2 separate regions of the Homo sapiens genome follow, and region 2 is linked to region 1. Evidence: promoter capture Hi-C in 16 types of primary human blood cells and fetal thymus (Javierre and others, 2016). All regions are on one chromosome and are shown on one strand. Each heading gives the region's core, a stretch centred on a gene start or on the middle of the fragment in contact. The rest is flanking DNA. Distances are from core to core; before and after follow the strand shown. Region 1 holds the start of CRYBB3 (crystallin beta B3). Region 2 has its middle 110 kb from the start of CRYBB2.

The links. Contacts are between HindIII fragments. The CHiCAGO score rates a contact against its expected background, and 5 or more counts as called.
Region 2: a contact is called between a fragment that was not itself captured here and the fragment with the promoter of CRYBB3 in region 1, in 2 of 17 cell types (M1 macrophages and endothelial precursors). The highest score is 6.1, in M1 macrophages.

What each region holds. Positions count from the first base shown.
Region 1 is chr22:25,196,477-25,201,301 of GRCh38, reverse strand. CRYBB3 (crystallin beta B3) reads right to left here and starts at 1,444. Exons shown (of 6, transcript NM_004076.5): 1 at 1,393-1,444. KIAA1671 reads right to left here. Exons shown (of 13, transcript NM_001145206.2): 13 at 3,854-4,825. The HindIII fragment of the contact is 15,596 bases long and covers 1-3,880 here.
Region 2 is chr22:25,327,474-25,332,391 of GRCh38, reverse strand. No RefSeq gene overlaps it. Among named protein-coding and RNA genes, the nearest start is that of CRYBB2, 110 kb to the right of the region's middle. The HindIII fragment of the contact is 737 bases long and covers 2,071-2,807 here.

The DNA.
Region 1 (4,825 bases), core at 195-2,694:
GAGCTACAGAGCCTTGCTGCCCATGGGGCGTGGCTGTAACTTATGATCGACATTCAGTCATTCAGCAAACATCCATTGAGCACCTGCCATGGGCCACGTGGACTGAGACAGTGGGATCAGGAGCCCCATTGTACAGAGGGGAACTCTGAGGCTCAGCAAAGTGAGGCCACTTCCTCAAGCACACAGTGAGGAAGTGGCCTGGGTCGGGCCTGGCTCCAAAGCCCGTGCCCTTTTCCCCTGATCCAGATGCTCCCCGAAACCCAGGTTTCTCAGAGCTCTCTGCAGATGTCCCACCCCCAGAACCTGGCTAAAGGGTGGGCTTCAGGGAGTTTCCTCTACAGGGGTCTCTCCCACCTCCGTACTCCAGGAACTCTTTTGTTCACTGGTTACTTTATTCAACAAATATTCCATGAGCACCTACACAGTGCCAGGCTCTGGGCTGGGTGACCAGGAGGGACAGGAGACCCCATATGTCGGGAGGTGGACAGACAGACCTCTAGAGAAAAGGCTTGTAAGACCAGGTCGTTGGACACCTGCTCCAGGTCAGTTTCCCTGCGTTCGGTTACTCATTCCTTAAGCATTTATTGAACACGACTGTGTACCAGCCACTTCAAGACCCAGACACCGACAGTTCTTCATTGCTACAGGGACAGTGACACGCAATACAGGCCCCTGCCGCAGTCACATGGAAGGATTCTCATCATTGTTGCACCCATGGACACACACAGGACTGTTCTGTTTGTCAGCACACACACATAGGTGCACACACTCGCAAAAGTTTCTATGGTCACTATCAGTTATATTTCACCCATGGGCTCACAGGACAGCTTCTTTCTCTCTCTCTCTCTCTCTCCTCACACACACACATCCCTGCCCATTTCAGACATCCACAGTGGTAAACAAGGCACCTACATCTACACCCCACATCCAACTGTTACCCACCCACGGCTCCCAGCACGGCCACCCCAGCATGCACAGCTGCACAGCCCACATACTCTGGATGTGGGCCTAACCATGCACAGCCTGCGGGCTGTCGGTTCTGTCTCTCCTAGCCTCAGCAGGAAACAGGGCTTGGTCCAGCTCACAGGGGACTCTCGGGGGACTTGGCAGGTACCATGTGTGCCCACTCCCCTCCCTCAGAGGAGCTGTTTTGGAAGGTCCCCTGCCCTAAGCACATGTCCAGGGGCTTGGACCCTGGCCACTGCAGACAAGGGTCCCTCGTTCCACCCCCAGCTGGGCTGTCAGGGTCCTCTCACTGGGACCTGACCCTTAAGGGAGGCGCTGTTTTTCTTTGCAGGCGGTCAGCCATGCGCGTCCCACAGAAACTACAAAAGGTCCGGGCCTGCCAGGGTGGCTTTTGCCTCCCCACCCCCAACCCATCCCAGAATGAACCTGTTGCTGTAGCCTCGGGAAGAACAGAGGAGCCACGGCCGTCTGCAGACTCGCCTGTCTTCGCAAGGGGCATGCTATTTATGAGCACTTTCTGACAGCCCAGCACATCCCAGCCTGCTGAGGCAGCACCCTGTCCACCCAATTCCATCCAGGCCACTTCACTCCAATAGCGGGTCCACGGAGGCCCCCAGTGCCTGTCTCCTCAGCCACCGTCTCTGATGACTTCCTGGGGACAGATGAACCTCACTGGCTTTGTGGGAAGCCCAGCAGCGCCAGGCAAGGGGCACGGTGTGCAGCTCTCCCGTGTCTCCCCACAACCACCAACTCCCTTTCTTTGGTTTCTTGGGGTCACCATTTCCTATTGAGTCACACGCAACCTTTGGAAAAATTCTAGTTCTTAAAGTGAGGGACCCCAGACACTCTCCAGTTTCCATGTGCCATGTGGCCTAAGTTTTAAGTCAGATCACGCTAACCATACTCTCCAACTTGGGCGCAAATCCACCCAACCGTTTCCATAGGATGCCGTCACAGAACTCACAGACTGACTTTCTTCATGTAGAAGACACGCACGAATAATAGCTACCATTTCTTGAACACCTACTACACGCAAGGCATTGTGCCAGCTTCACAAGCATTGTATGGAATTCTCATCCAGCCATCCTTAGGGGAGGAATTCTGATTCCACTTTATACATGGAGAAACTGAGTTCAGAGAGGTGAACCCATTTACTCAGAATCACACAGCAGAGAGAAGGGGCTGGCCTGCTCCAGGACCTGGGATCTTAGCCTCAATAGAAATAAAAGTGACCATCACAGTCAACTTATTTATGACCAAAGAAAAAAGGTAGATCCAGGTATTTTTATTTTATTTTTTAGAGATAGGTTGTTGCTACATTGCCCAGGCTGGACTCAAACTCCTGGGCTCAAGCAATCCTTTCTCCTCAGTGTCCTGAATAACCGGAACTACAGGCACGTGCCACTGCACCCAGCTTCCAGGAATTTTTTAAGTGTCTAACAAAGTATAATTTTGCCTGTAATCAATATCTAATAAGTGATTATTTTATGAATAAAATTATATTGGAGCAAAGGAGTGAGTTAACAAGGTTTTCTTTTGTTGTTGTTGGTATTTGTTTTTGGCTAAAATCCTCAAGTCAGCATAAAACCCAGTTACAGGCCGGGCGCGGTGGCTCACGCCTGTAATCCCAACACTCTGGGAGGCCGAGGCAGGCGGATCACGAAGTCAGGAGCTCGAGACCATCCTGGCTAACACGGTGAAACCCTGTCTCTACTAAAAACACAAAAAATTAGCCAGGTGTGGTGGCGGGTGCCTGTAGTCCCAGCTACATGGGAGGCTGAGGCAGGAGAATGGTGTGAACCCAGGAGGCAGAGCTTGCAGTGAGCTGAGATCGCACCACTGCACTCCAGCCTGGGCAACAGAGCAAGACTCCGTCTCAAAAAACAAACAAACAAACAAAAACACAGTTACCCTGTACCCCCTAGAGGGAGATGGTGGTGAGATGCTGTGGATGACAGCTGGACTCTGAGTCAGGCAGATGTGTGTGACCTTGGACGAGTTCCTGAAGGTCTCAGAGCTACTGTCTCCTCACCATAAATGGAGAACCTTCTCTCCACTTGGGCCATTTTGGGAGGTCATGCAAGCAAAGCACTGCGCACAGTATCTGTTATTTTTGACTTTTATTCCCAGCATCCTGCCTACTCTGGACAGTTCAAGCCAAGGGGCTACTTCCTGCTGAAGGTCACAGAAAGCAGTCGGTTTGGACCCCCTGAGTTGGGATGTAGTTGCCACCAGCTGGGACAGAAGGAGGAAGGCAGAGGTGGGGATGGCGTGGCTCCCCCTCCCATCACATCTTTGAGGACCTTGCAGACCTACTGCACGCTCAGCACTTTGATGTACCACATCTCCCCAATCTAGACTTTTCAACCTTGACACTACTGCCATTTGGGGTCGGGTCATTCTTTGTGGTGGGGTCGGGGTGGGAGCTGTCCTGTGCACTGCAGGATGCTGAGCAGCATCCCTGGCCTCTACTCACTTCCTGGAGCATCTTCTCTCCTTCTTGTGATAACCAATAATGCCTCCTTTCATTACCAGACATGCTCTGGAGGGCACAATCCACCCAGCTGAGAACCACCACCTTAAACTGTTACCTGCAAAAATGTCCTGATCACCACTCCCATTGTATAGCTAAGGAGAACCAATGTTTAAAAGAAATCCCACAGCCAGAGGGTGGCAGGAGGAGGACTCAACCCCTTGTCAGTCTGAATGGAAATCCTGCCTTGTTTCCATGGCCTCCCATTCTGCATGGACACCCTCTCCCAGGACCCCAGCTCTGCCCTCTCGCTGGCTGGCCCACAGCTCAGCACAGGACAGACTGACTCAGCCAGCCCCAGTCAGGGCCTGCATGCATGGGAGACTCTATTCATTCACACATGGACGCACCGACTTCTCCAATGCAACTTGCACCAAAGCTTTATTTGCTATTTTCATAGTCTGAATGCAACATCTTTGTACATGCAAAGGTCATCTTGTTTTATTGCAGTCGACCAGATTTCCAACTGCTCTTCTGTGCATATGAAACTTCTTTACAGTTACAAAATATAAAAGCACTTGTAGACGTCCAATACTCTGTGAGGTCTGGTAAGCCCCATTTGTTTTTACATTAAAAATATAAGTTTTTCTAGATGACTTCTCAGTCACACGGTTAGAGATTCTTTCTGGGACTGGATAAAGTGCCTCTCGTCTGCCTTCCGTTCAGAACTCCTAGAGCTTGTGAATTCCTAAGGCAATTGCAAGAACACCGCAGGCAGGAAGCTTAACTTTCCTACACAAAGAACTCGAGCTCCTTTTCTATCGTGACTCAAAGATCTGAGGAAGGACCCAGAAGAAAGGTTAGGAAAATATATACTATACTTGTGTGTGTGTGTGTCTCTGTGTGTGTGTGTATATATATATATTTCCACGCCCTGCCCCATCTTACAAAGCATTTGGAGGATCACGATCATCTGGGAAGTGCATGACTTTAGGATATTGGTATGATTTAGGAAACAGCACAGTACAAAATTATCTTCCATAACACAATATATTACTTTTGTGACCCCCCCTATTTACAGGATCTATAAGGCTATGTGGAATGAGATTATTAAAAAGCTCAAATTCAGCTGGGCATGGTGGCTCAGGCCTGTAATCCCAGCACTTTGGGAGGCTGAGGCAGTAGAATCACTTGAGACCAAGTTTAAGACCAGCTTGGGCAATATAGTGAGATCCTGTTTCTACAAAACAGATTTAAAAGATCAGCTGGGCGTGGTGATGTGCGCCTGTCATCTAGGCTACTCTGGAGGTGGAGATGAGAGGATTGCTTGAGCCCAGGAGTTGGAGGCTGGAGTGAGCTATGATTGTGCCACTGCATTCCAGCCTG
Region 2 (4,918 bases), core at 1,190-3,689, 130 kb before region 1:
TGATGTGGCACTGGCCCTTGTCCGTCTGCTATGGATTGGAGCTTTTTTTTTTTTTTTTTTTTTTGAGACAGAGTTTCACTCTGCCACTCAGACTGCAGTGCAGGGGTTCGATCTTGGCTCACTGCAACCTCCACCTCCCAGGTTCAAGTGATTCTCCAGCCTCAGCCTCCCAAGTAGCTGGGATTACAGGTGTGTGCCACCATGCCTGACTACTTTTTGTATAAAAATACAGGCTTTCACCATGTTGGCCAGGCTGGTCTCAAACTCCTGACTCAGGTGATCGGCTGTCTCAGCCTCCCACCGTGCCCGGCCATGGATTGGAGCATTTCTAAGGCTTGAGGTACTCATGTTACTAAATACAATGCAATATCTTCCTGATCCTTCCCTGCTTTGACCAAGTGCTAAGGAATGATCGCAGCACTGACAGATGTTGACCTGCACTATTCCATGTGATCCCTTACACTTCTCAGAATCTGTGAGCTGACCAGAAGCCTGTGGGCTTTCTATGTATATTTCACAGTAATGTCCATGCCAACGTCTATTGTTCCGTGTACCTTTTGCTACCCAGGGTTATGTGACCAATGGGGCCCCATTTGATGATGGGCAATGTTTGGCACGCTTATAGGCCATCCACTACCACTACCAGGGGCACACATAGGTGCTGGAACTCCCTGGTGTAGGGTCATATCACCAAGCCTGAGTGCTGACACAGTTAAGTAATACAGACCATCAACATCGGGACCCATTTCTGGGTTCACTTTTGCCTTTTCCATTCAGGAGGTCAAAATCTGGGTTCATTCCTTTCTGCACTCTCTCCATATAAGGAGTAGGGATATTAAACTGACCTTCAGGTACAGCTGTGGTGAGGGAGTAAAGAGGTCATTTATGTAAAGTGTATGGTGGTGTTGAAGTTTTTCTTCCTTTTTATTAGAAGAATGACATGACTCGGGAGGCTGAGGTGAGAGAACCACCATAGGCCAGGAATTCAAGAAAACTGACACTTGCACTGTGCTGGGCATGCGGGTCCACATTTTAGGGGAAAAACACACATTTACAAACACATTCACAATCACTACACATTAATTCATCCCTAGCTAACTCCCAACCCTCATGCACACAAACCCACACCATCTAAATGATACGGCTGTTTCCAGGGACTCCAGTGGATGATGACAGTTCTTCACTGAGCCATCTGTTTCTCACAGTGCACTCCAGGTCCTCACTCCTATCAGGAACCTGAGGCCAGGCAGGCTCTCCAGACAAAAGCAGGGAATAGAGCCCCCCACAACCCATCACTTAGATTTGTATCAGCAAGGGAGTGGTCTTAGGATATATACGGTGTTAGAGAAGAGAACAAGACACACTCGGGCCTGTCGGGGCAGGGGAAGGGAGAGCATCTGGATAAACAGCAAATGCATGCAGGGCTTAATACCTAGGTGATGGTTTGACAGGTGCAGCAAACCACCATGGCACACTTTTACCTATGTAACAAACCTGTACATCCTGCACATGTATCTCAGAACTTAAAAAAAAAAAAAAAAAAAACAAGTTAAAAAAGAAACGGCCGGAGTAGGCAAATCTACAGCAATAGAAAGTAGATGAGTGGCTTCCTATCGCCAGAGGTGTGGGGGTTGGAAAAAGAGAGGAGTAACCACTAATGGATACAGGGTTTCTTCGTGGAGGAATGAAAACGTTCTAAAATGAGATTGTACAATGGTTGCACAACCCTGTAAATACAGTAAAAACACTGAATCACCCACTTTAAATGGGTGAATTGTTTTGCATGTCAACTATTTCTCAATAAAGCTTTTTTTAAAAATAATAAATACATACGGTAGGAATTTTGGGCAATGGGTTTTCATGGAATATTTGCAAGTCCATGTTGGCTGGCAAATACAAAATTATTTTTCAAGAAGAAAAAGTTGCTACTAAAAAATATGCTCACTACCAGACAGTTTGTAGGTAATGCTGTCATTTTTTACTGTCATCATCAATTAGGCCTCAGTTGTTCATAAACTCATGGCTGGTCACTAGAGTCCATGACCAACTGAAGCTTGATCAACTGAAGCTTGATTGACAATGGCAATCAAAAATGATATTCACTTGATATTCCCCCCACCAAGAAAATTGTCTTAGTCATCTGTTATGTATATGGTCAGACTTTTATGTCTTCATTTCATTAATAAGGGAAGAAGCCCCAGAAAAAAAAAAAATTCTCTTCCAGATGAAGGAATGCATCTCACCATTTCAGATAACACCTCCTCCGCAATATCAAGCGCAATATCTTCCAGGTCCAGAACAGAAGCTAGGAGAACATAGAGTAATAGTCAGTGCATTGGTGCTTCTCAGGAATCCCACTAGGAGCCTTGGGGGATGTGGGGACCAGCGCTGAAGTCTATGGAGGTGGGTGGTTGACAAGCATGGACTGAGCTGCTGCTGGACCATTCTCTTTGGTGTGGAAGGAAAGCAAAGGAGAGGAGGAGAAATGTGAAATATTAGCGTTAAGAACTGATTAATACAGAAAGGCACTGTATGGTTCTGTGAGAGCATCTCCTCACACCTCCTGCCCATTTGAAGGTCCAGGCCAATCCCCTCATTTTTCAAAATGTTACAAGACCATTTAATTCTGTGGATTTACATATCCTGCTACTACATTTATCACCTATCGTGTTTTACTTTTTAAATTATGGTGAAGCATACATATTATTTTAATTATTTAGTGTACATTTCAGTGAGATTGAATTCAGTGAACTACATTCATGACGCGGTGTCAATAATGAGAAAAATCTAAATTCATACTCTAAGCTTAAAAAACAATTCTTGCAGAAATCAATGGAATAGAAAACAGAAAATCATCCGAGAAAATCAATAAAACAAAAAGCCAGTTCTTTGAGATCAGTACCATTGATAAACCTCTACCTTGGCTAACCACAAAGGAAAGAAAGATGTTACAATGTACTAATAGCATCAATTGAAGAGCAGTTAAATCAAAAAATAATAAAGGAATATTCTGAACACATCTATGCCCACAATTTGATACATAGATGAAATGAGCTCATTCCTTTTTATCGATTTTAGAAGACCAAAAGTCTTCTGGGGAAAAATAGATCATCTGAATAGGCCTATATTTATTTTAGAAATTGAAGCAATGATTAATAATCTTTCAAAAGAAGGAAAAACCAAAAACACTACATTCATATGATTTCACTGGTTAAAAAAAAAAAAAAAAAATTCTACCAAAATTCTTTTTTGTTGTTGTTTTTTGCGACGCAGTTTTGCTCTGTCACCAAGCTGGAGTGCAGTGGCGCGAACTCGGCTCACTGCAACATCTGACTCCCTGGTTCAAGCGATTCTCCTGCCTCAGCCTCTCAAGTAGCTGGGATTACAGGCACAGGCCACCACGCCCAGCTGATTTTTGTATTTTTAGTGGAGGCGGGGTCTCGCCATGTTGGCCAGGATGGTCTTGATCTCCTGACCTCGTGATCACCCGCCTCAGCTTCCCAAAGTGCTGGGATTACAGGCGTGAGCCACCGTGCCCAGCCCCAAAATTCTTACAAAGAAAAACCTGGTCTTACCATACAAGCAAGTAATTATAATCCTAAGTATTTCCTTAGTTATATTTTGGAAACATAATTTTTAAACAAGACACAGCAAGGTTTTTAATAGCTATATTCATAATTGCCCAAAGTGAAAGCAAATATCTAAACATTTGAGGTGTCCTTTACTATTAAAAGTGAACCAAGCCTGGGCAACATGATGAAACCCCATCTATACAAAAAAAAAAAAATAGAAAAATTAGCTTGGCATGATGCCTTAGTGCCAGTTACTTGGGAGCCTGAGGTGGGGGGAACACCTGAACCTGAGGAGGTCAAGGTTGCAGTGAGCTGTCATTGCACCAATGCATTCCTGGGTGACAAAATGAGGCCTTGTCTCAAAAAATAATAATTTTGAATTTTGAATTTAAGAAATCTCCAGCCGGGCGCAGTGGCTCACGCCTGTAATCCCAACACTTTGGAAGGCCGAGGCAGGTGGATCATGAGGTCAGGAGATAGAGACCATCCTGGCTAACACGGTGAAACCCACCTGTACTAAAAATACAAAAAATTAGCCAGGTGTGGTGGCACGTGCCTGTAGTCCCAGCTACTCAGGAGGCTGAGGCAGAAGAATTGCTTGAACCCGGGAGGCAGAAGTGGCAGTGAGCTGAGATCATGCCTCTGCCCTCCAGCCTGGACAACAGAGTGAGACTCCATCTCAAAAAAAAAAAAACAAAAAATCCAAATATTTGGGCCTGAATTATCCCAATTATTAGCTACTTTAAGGGTTGGGAGAAAAGTAACAATCTGACCCTTAGCTGGTTCCTTCATTTAGGTACCAAACCGGCCGGATAGGTGAGGCTAGAGAATGGGATGGGGACTCCAAAATTGGGGTATTTGAATTTTCATTGAGAAAAGGGAGAGACTAGATCAAAAAAGCCTCAATGTCTAAGGCAAGAGGCAGAGCCAGCCTTTGTCCCCCATGCCCAGACCTGGGAAAGCTGGCTATGGACAGGAGGGAGCTGGAAGCTGAGGATGTCTCTGGGGATGAGGGTAAGGGAAGGGGGTGGGGGTGGCCAGAGGTGTGCCAGAGGGTAAACGGCACCCGTGGCTTTTTTACCTGTGGGCATCTTTTGGTTGCTGATGTGCTGCAGGTCTTGGCCCTCCGTGGCTCCCACATCCAGCTTGCCAGGCTCTACGGTAGTGGATTCTGATGTTGCAGCAGCCACGGCCTCATAAATATCAGATTCATAACTGGATGCTGCCTTCCCCCTGGGCCAGCCACAGTCGGAGCTGACTTTGGGGCACACACGACAGGTCAGTATATTCCCCGTGGGGCACCTACACTCCTCTCCACTCCTGCCTGAGCCTTCGATGAAATTGTA